Regions from separate parts of the Homo sapiens genome. Here region 2 is linked to region 1. Evidence: promoter capture Hi-C in human tissues and cell types (Jung and others, 2019). All regions are on one chromosome and are shown on one strand. The core of a region is centred on a gene start or on the middle of the fragment in contact, and the rest is flanking DNA. Distances in the headings are between cores, read along the strand shown.

Region 1 (3,387 bases), core at 291-2,790:
CCAGCATGTCTCTGATGTGGGAGTCAGCTTGGCATTCACAACTGTGCGATTTGTAAGTGTGAAGTAGTTAATGCCCAAGGGCATTAACCTTCGATCAAAGAGGACAGGAGCCGACATACAAATGCTTCCTCCGTTCTTTCCTTTAATGGACAGTTCTGAGACTCATTTCATAAAGCTTCTTAGAAGGTCCTAAGGGACTAAGAAAACATTCAAATATGGTGATGACCAACTCAGTAACACATTCTTATACTGCATCTCCCTTTTTGTTTTGTCTTCTTCCTCTTCCCTCATTTTGCTCCCTGGGATCAAATTTCCAAATAAACTATTGCATATAAGTGTCACTTTGCAGGGAATCCAAGAGGAGAGAGGATAATTTAATTTTTGGACACACAAGTTTGAGGTGTCTATAAGACATCCAAGTGGAAATGTCAGGCGATGGGCAGTATATACACAAATCTTGAGGTTCAAGAAAGAGATCTAGGCTTCTGAAATGCAATTCATTTCCCAACTTTGAGGAGGGCTATAAACATACAGGTAAATAAAAGAAAGATAATAGGACCAAAAAACACATGCAATTGTCATAGAGTGTCCACAGTAAGCATTCCGGTGCCAAGCAGGAAAGGGTCTTTGTAAAGATATAACCAGATCCTGCTCTTAAAAGGGAAGTCATTTGATGAAAGTGAAAAGTATTCTAACTACTGTTTGCTCATTTAAATTTCTAGCACATTTATCTGATCTGTACCTCTCTTTGGTCACTTATTTTGTGTCCTATTTTATATATATTTGTACCTACACCTTGTCTAGTCCTACCACACTGTGAACTCCTTTAGGTTAAGATTCATGCCTGAATCACCTCTGTACCTGGAATCAAAGTGCCTAGCATTAAAAAAAAAAGGTGCCAGGAATATTGAATAAATAAAACACCTACCTGCAACCAGCAACATTGGCATCATTTATGCATCCCAAACTTAAATATGCATAAGCATCATCTTGCTAAGATGCAGATTCTGATTCAGTAGATCTGAAGTGAGCCAGAGAGGCTGCATTTCCTAAAAAGCCCCCAGATGATACCCAAGCAGCTGATCCACGGACCACACTTTGAGTATCAAGGTCATGAGGACAATGGTTCTTGACCTTAGCTGCATATGAGAATCATCTGGGAAGATATTAAAAGTACTGATGTCTGGGTCCCACCCGCAGGGATTCTGATTTAACTCATTTAAGCTCTCCAAAGTTTAAGTAGCAAAGATCTAGAGTTAATAGAGCTTTACGTATGAAAAAAGAAAACATTTAATCGAATTTCTTCTTAAATGAATTGCTGCAAATATCTGAATAAATAACTCTTAATCCCCAACTCCCAAGTCAGTTTCTGTGCCACAAAGGCCCCGCCCCTGCCCTTCCCTGACACGCCCCTCCAATGAGGCCTTGTTCCGCCTGGCCACGCCCGTCGGTTGGCGCCCCGCCCCTCCGCGTCTATTGGCCGCTCCCTTTTTCTCCCATCGCTGCTTCTTCCTTCTCTACGCGGTCAACTTCCGGCGCGGAGTTTGTCACGTGCCCGGATATAGGAAGTGTTGGGGGAACGGCCGCTTCCCGTTCAACGCTTTATTGAGGGGCGTATCCTAGTGGCCCCCATCCGGTCTCCGTTTTGGAAGACCCGCCTCGGCACAGCCAGGCTCAGTCCGGCCTTGCGGTAAGCCTTCGGCCGCGGCTGCCCGGTAGTCCCGGCGGCGGCGGACAGACGAGCTGACAGGCACCAGGGTCTAAGGCGGCTCCTCAGTCCGGCTGCTGTCTCCACGCCTGGGGTCGGGCACCGCTCCTTCTGACCTTCCTTTCCCCGTTTGTCCCGGTAAGACGAAGTTTGGTCAGAGCATTCTCCAGTCCCTTGTCCTCGGGTCTAGGAGAATGCGGAGCTGGGAGGGCAGTCCTCACGGGCCCCATTACGGTTCCGCCCATCGGAACCAGATTTTGTTTGTGCAAAATGACCCTGATCGTAAGCTCTTTGGCGTGGTCCAGGAGAGGAGAGCGTGACTGTGCCTTCCTCTTTGTCCAAATTCACATCCCGGCCCCCCAACCCCAACTCCCCCCCACCCCCCGCCAAATCTCTTAAGTGTATTTCTCTATTTCCTTGCACAGTTATATCTTCTAGATGGCAATGCTTCATGCATTAATATATCTCAGCAGCATACAGGGCCCAATGCACACGGGCACTCACACTGACAGGCTATTTGTCACACAGTGTGGTGGTCCAACTGAGCTGAAGGAAACAACCAGTACAGAGTAAGCAGTGGATGGCTGCCTTTGGAACGTGGTCAGATATGGGTTCTCAGACCTGGAGAATAATTTTAGAGGACCTCTAGGGATTTATTTACTGACTTTCAGAAAAGTACCGTAAAGACTGAAGAGTTAATCACTCGACTCTTAGGATGTAAATGCCATAGAAACACCCGGCTTCAGGTCTTCATAAACATATCTGTCATGTTGACTACTGTAACCTAGAATAGTGTCTGCCACCTAATAAGCATGAGTATTTGCTGAATGAATGAAGAGTCACATACTGCTTTTCATTATGGCTAACTCCTTTATGAGGTATGCCCAATCCTGTCTTGTTTTGCCTCTTACTGTACACTCAGTTGCTTTTAGCCAGAGAAGGAGTATGTGGTAAACGTTGGTCCCTATTATTCATTTGACCAGTTTTTACTATTCAGTTCTAATTACCTTAATAGATATTTAAGTATCCACTAAACACAAAACTATGATGAACATCCCTCCCTTCTTTAAGAGAATTCTTGAGATAGAGAAGCTTATGATTTAATGAGCCCATTAGACGGCAAATGCAGTAAGTGCTGTAGAAATTTAGAGGAGAGATCACTTTGGATTAAGATCTTCATTGAATCAACTTCATGTAAACCATGAAGTGTAATTAGGGTTTGGATAGGGCGGAGATGATATTCCTTACATGGAAAGTACCAAAGTGAAGATTTGATGTCCAAAATGAACAGAGTGTTTGGAGTGGAATGTTTTTGAGAACATTAGGAAAACGTTGAGTAAAAGCGTGATGTGATACAAACTGTCTTTTAAAATTATCTTGTTGTTCAGGGTTGTGGGACCTTGCAAAGAGAACCAGATTTTGTAGGGTTAAGTAAAGTTGATATGAACCTGGGTCAGTATATTTGCAGTGCGAAAAGAAAGGAATAAATTACATGTAGATGGGGGGAAATCGCAGAATGTGGTAGCAGATTTCATGTTGATAAGGGAATAGGGAAGCAAATATGGTAGATTTTGAACCTGGACATTTGCTTATAGATGTGAAAGTTAGGAAAGGGGAATCTTGGAGGAGCTATAGCTGTCATGTTAGTGAATTTAAGCATTTGTTAAATGCCTAGTTTG
Region 2 (3,387 bases), core at 300-2,799, 280 kb before region 1:
TGACCTTTCACACTTTCTGATTCACACAACTGGAAGTAAAGGTTTCTGAGATTATGTAGCCCCTAATGAAACAGCCCAGGTTCATAGTCATTGCCTGGAGGAGAGCTACTCAGGAGAACTATAGGATAAGCATCAAAGAATTGTGCAACCATCACCACTACCTAATTCAAAAACATTTTCATCACTCCACAATAAACCCATATCTATTTGTAGTTACTCCCTATCCCCTATCCTAGGCCCTGGTAACCAATAATTGTGTTCTGTCTCTATGACTTTTTGTACTGGTTTCTTTCCCCTAGCATGTTTTCATCCATGTTGTAGAACATATTGGTACTTCATTTCATTTGAATTATGGCTGAATAGTATTCCACTGTATAGACTGATGACATTTAGATTGTTTCCATTTTGAGGTTATTGTGAATAATGTTGCTATGGCCATTCCTATACATGTTTTGAATTTTCTTGGGTATATACCTAGAAGTGGAATTGCTGGGTCATATGCTAACTTTATATTTAACCTTTTGAGGATCCACCAGACTGTTTTTCAAAGTGGCTGTACCATTTACATTCCCAGTGGCAATTCAAAGGGTTCCAATCCTCACCAATTTATTTATTATAACCACCTTAGTGTGTTTGAAGTAGTCTCCCAATGTGGGGTCTTCCCTAACTCCAATAGTTAGTGTCAGAATTGAAATGAATTGTAGAACACCCAGTTGGTGTCCAGAAAGTTGGAGAATTGGTTGTGGGGGACCCTGCCCCAACATTTCATGTCAGAAGTGGTATGAGTAAAACATACCAGAGGAACTAAAAAGTACAGTAACTAAAATTAAAAAAATACATTGGAGAGTTCCAAAAGCAGATTTGAGGAAGCAGAAGAATCAGCAACCTTGAAAATAGGACAACTGCAATGATCAAATCTGAGAAAAAAAAAAGAATGAAAAAAAAATAAACAGGGCCTAAAGGGTCTGTGGGATGATATAAAGCAGACCAACACACATGTTGTGTGAATCTCAACAGAAAAGAGAGAGAAAAGAAGCATAAAGGATATTTTAAGAAATAATGGCTGAAAACTTCCCAAATTTGATGAAATACATTAATCTATAAACTCAAGTGTCCAACAAACTCCAAGTATGATAAAAGTATGATAAACTCAAAGACACCCACATGGGGATACATCATAAACTACTGAAAGGCAAGAAGAGACAATGAGAATCTTGAAAGCAGAGAGAAGCAAGTCATCACATACAAGGGATCTTCAATAAGACTATCAGCCAGTTTCTCAGCAGAAATTTTGGAAGCCAAAAAGGCAGTGAGTTGATATTTTTTAAATGCTGAGAGAAAACAACTGTCAAAAGCAAGAATTCGATATTTGGCAAAACTATGCTTCAAGAATGAGGGTAAATTAATGCATTCCTAGATTTAAAAAATAAAAATAAAAACAAAAAAACACCAAGGGACCTAGACCTGCCTAAAAAATATGTGAAAGGAGTCCTTCAGGCTGAAATGAAAGAGCACCAGATAGTATCCAAAGCCACATGAAGAAACGAGGAACATGGTGAAGTTAACTACATAGGGAAATATAATAGCCAGTATTACCATTTGGCTTTTACATAGGAAAATGTAAAAGCCATTATTGGAATTGGTTTCTTTTTTTTTTCTTTTTGAGACAGTCTTGCTTTGTTGCCTAGGCTGGAGTGCCGTGGCGCGATCTTAGCTTACTGCAACCTCTGCCTCCCAGGTTCAAGCAATTCTCACACCTAGCCTCCTGAGTAGCTGGGATTACAGGGGTGTGCCACCATGCCCAGCTAAATTTTTTGTATTTTTATTAGAGACGGGGTTTCACCATGTTGGCCAGGCTGGTCTCAAACTCCTGAACTCAGGCGATTTGCCCACCTCTGCCTCCCAAAGCACTGGGATTACAGGCGTAAGCCATCATGCCTGGCCTAGAGTTGGTTTCTAACTTCTCTTTTTTTCCTGTATGATATAAAAGGTAAATACATAAAGCAATAATAATAATCTATGTTAATGGATGCACAATATATAACAATGTAGTCTGTGACACTAACAAATAAGGAGAAGGATGGAGATGTGTTTACATGCTATTGACTCTAAGTTGGTATTATTCAAAGTAGGCCACTGTAAGACGTTAATTTTTATCCTTAAGATAATCACTATGAAAAAACTAAAAGATACACAGAAAATGAAAGAAGAAGGAAATAAAAATGGTACACTAGAAAAATCAGCTAACTGTGAAAAGAAAGCAGTAATGGAAGACTTAAAAAACAAAAATTATGTAAGAAATACAGAAAACACCTAAGTAGCAGAAGCAACTCCTTTCTTAACAGTACTTACTTTAAATGTAAGTGAATTTTAAATTAATATGATTAATCTCCAACTAAAGGCAAAGACTGGCAAAACAAATTTTAAAAAAAGCATGTTCCAGATTTCTCAGTCCTTTTTTTTTTTTGAGACGGAGTCTTGCTCTGTCGCCCAGGCTGGAGTGCAGTGGCACAATCTCGGCTCACTGCAACCTCTGCCTCCCAGATTCAAGCAATTCTCCTGCCTCAGCCTCCCGAGTAGGTGGGATTACAGGTACAGGCCACTACACCCAACTAATTTTTGTATTTTAGTAGAAACAGGGTTTCACCATGTTGGCCAGGCTGGTTCGAACTCCTGACTCAGGTGATCCGCCTGCCTTGGTCTCCCAAAGTGCTGGGATTACAGGCATGGGCCACTGTGCCTGGCCTTCTCAGGCCTCTTTTATAAGAGCATTAATCCCGTTCATAAAGGGGTAGCCCTCATGACCTAATTACCTCCCTAAGGCTCCACCTCTTAATGCCATCACATTGGGAGGGGATTAGGTTTCAACATATGAATTTGGGGGGGACACAAACATTCAGACCACAGCACCATCATTTAGTGGTTTTTATGGAGGTTTCATTAGATAGGCATGATTGACTAAATCGTTGGCCACTGGTGATTAACTCAATCTCTAGCCCCTCTCCCCTCTCCAGAGAGCAGGGAATAGTGTTAAAAGTTCTAACCTTCTAATCACATGGTTGGTTCCTCTGGCAACCAGCCCTCATCCTAAAGCTACTAGGATCCCCTCCACCAAGGATCATCTCATAAGCATACCAAAGGTACTTTTATCACCTAGCAAATTCCAAGTATGTTTGTGTCAGGAACTGGGGACAAAGATCAGATATATATTTCTCATTATCACAGTTCCAGAATATCTTTTATTCCTGTTTATAACTTCTATTTCTTTATTGATATTCTCTTTTTGATCATACATTATATTCCTATCTTTTTAGCTCTTTAAGCATCCGTAAGATAGTTGTCTTAAAGTCTTTGTCTAGTAAGTCTGACTTCTGGGCTTCCTCAAGT

The links. The method cuts DNA at HindIII sites, captures the fragments that hold promoters and counts their contacts. A contact is called where the count stands out against the background at its distance.
Region 2: a contact is called between a fragment that was not itself captured here and the fragment with the promoter of EXOC1 in region 1, in 1 of the 25 tissues and cell types used here (mesenchymal stem cells).

What each region holds. Positions count from the first base shown.
Region 1 is chr4:55,852,108-55,855,494 of GRCh38, forward strand. EXOC1 (exocyst complex component 1) reads left to right here and starts at 1,541. Exons shown (of 19, transcript NM_001024924.2): 1 at 1,541-1,846. RefSeq lists a silencer at 1,333-1,432. The HindIII fragment of the contact is 5,967 bases long and covers 1-3,387 here.
Region 2 is chr4:55,574,449-55,577,835 of GRCh38, forward strand. The region is part of intron 3 of PDCL2 (phosducin like 2); the gene reads right to left. Among named protein-coding and RNA genes, the nearest start is that of PDCL2, 16 kb to the right of the region's middle. The HindIII fragment of the contact is 9,457 bases long and covers 1-3,387 here.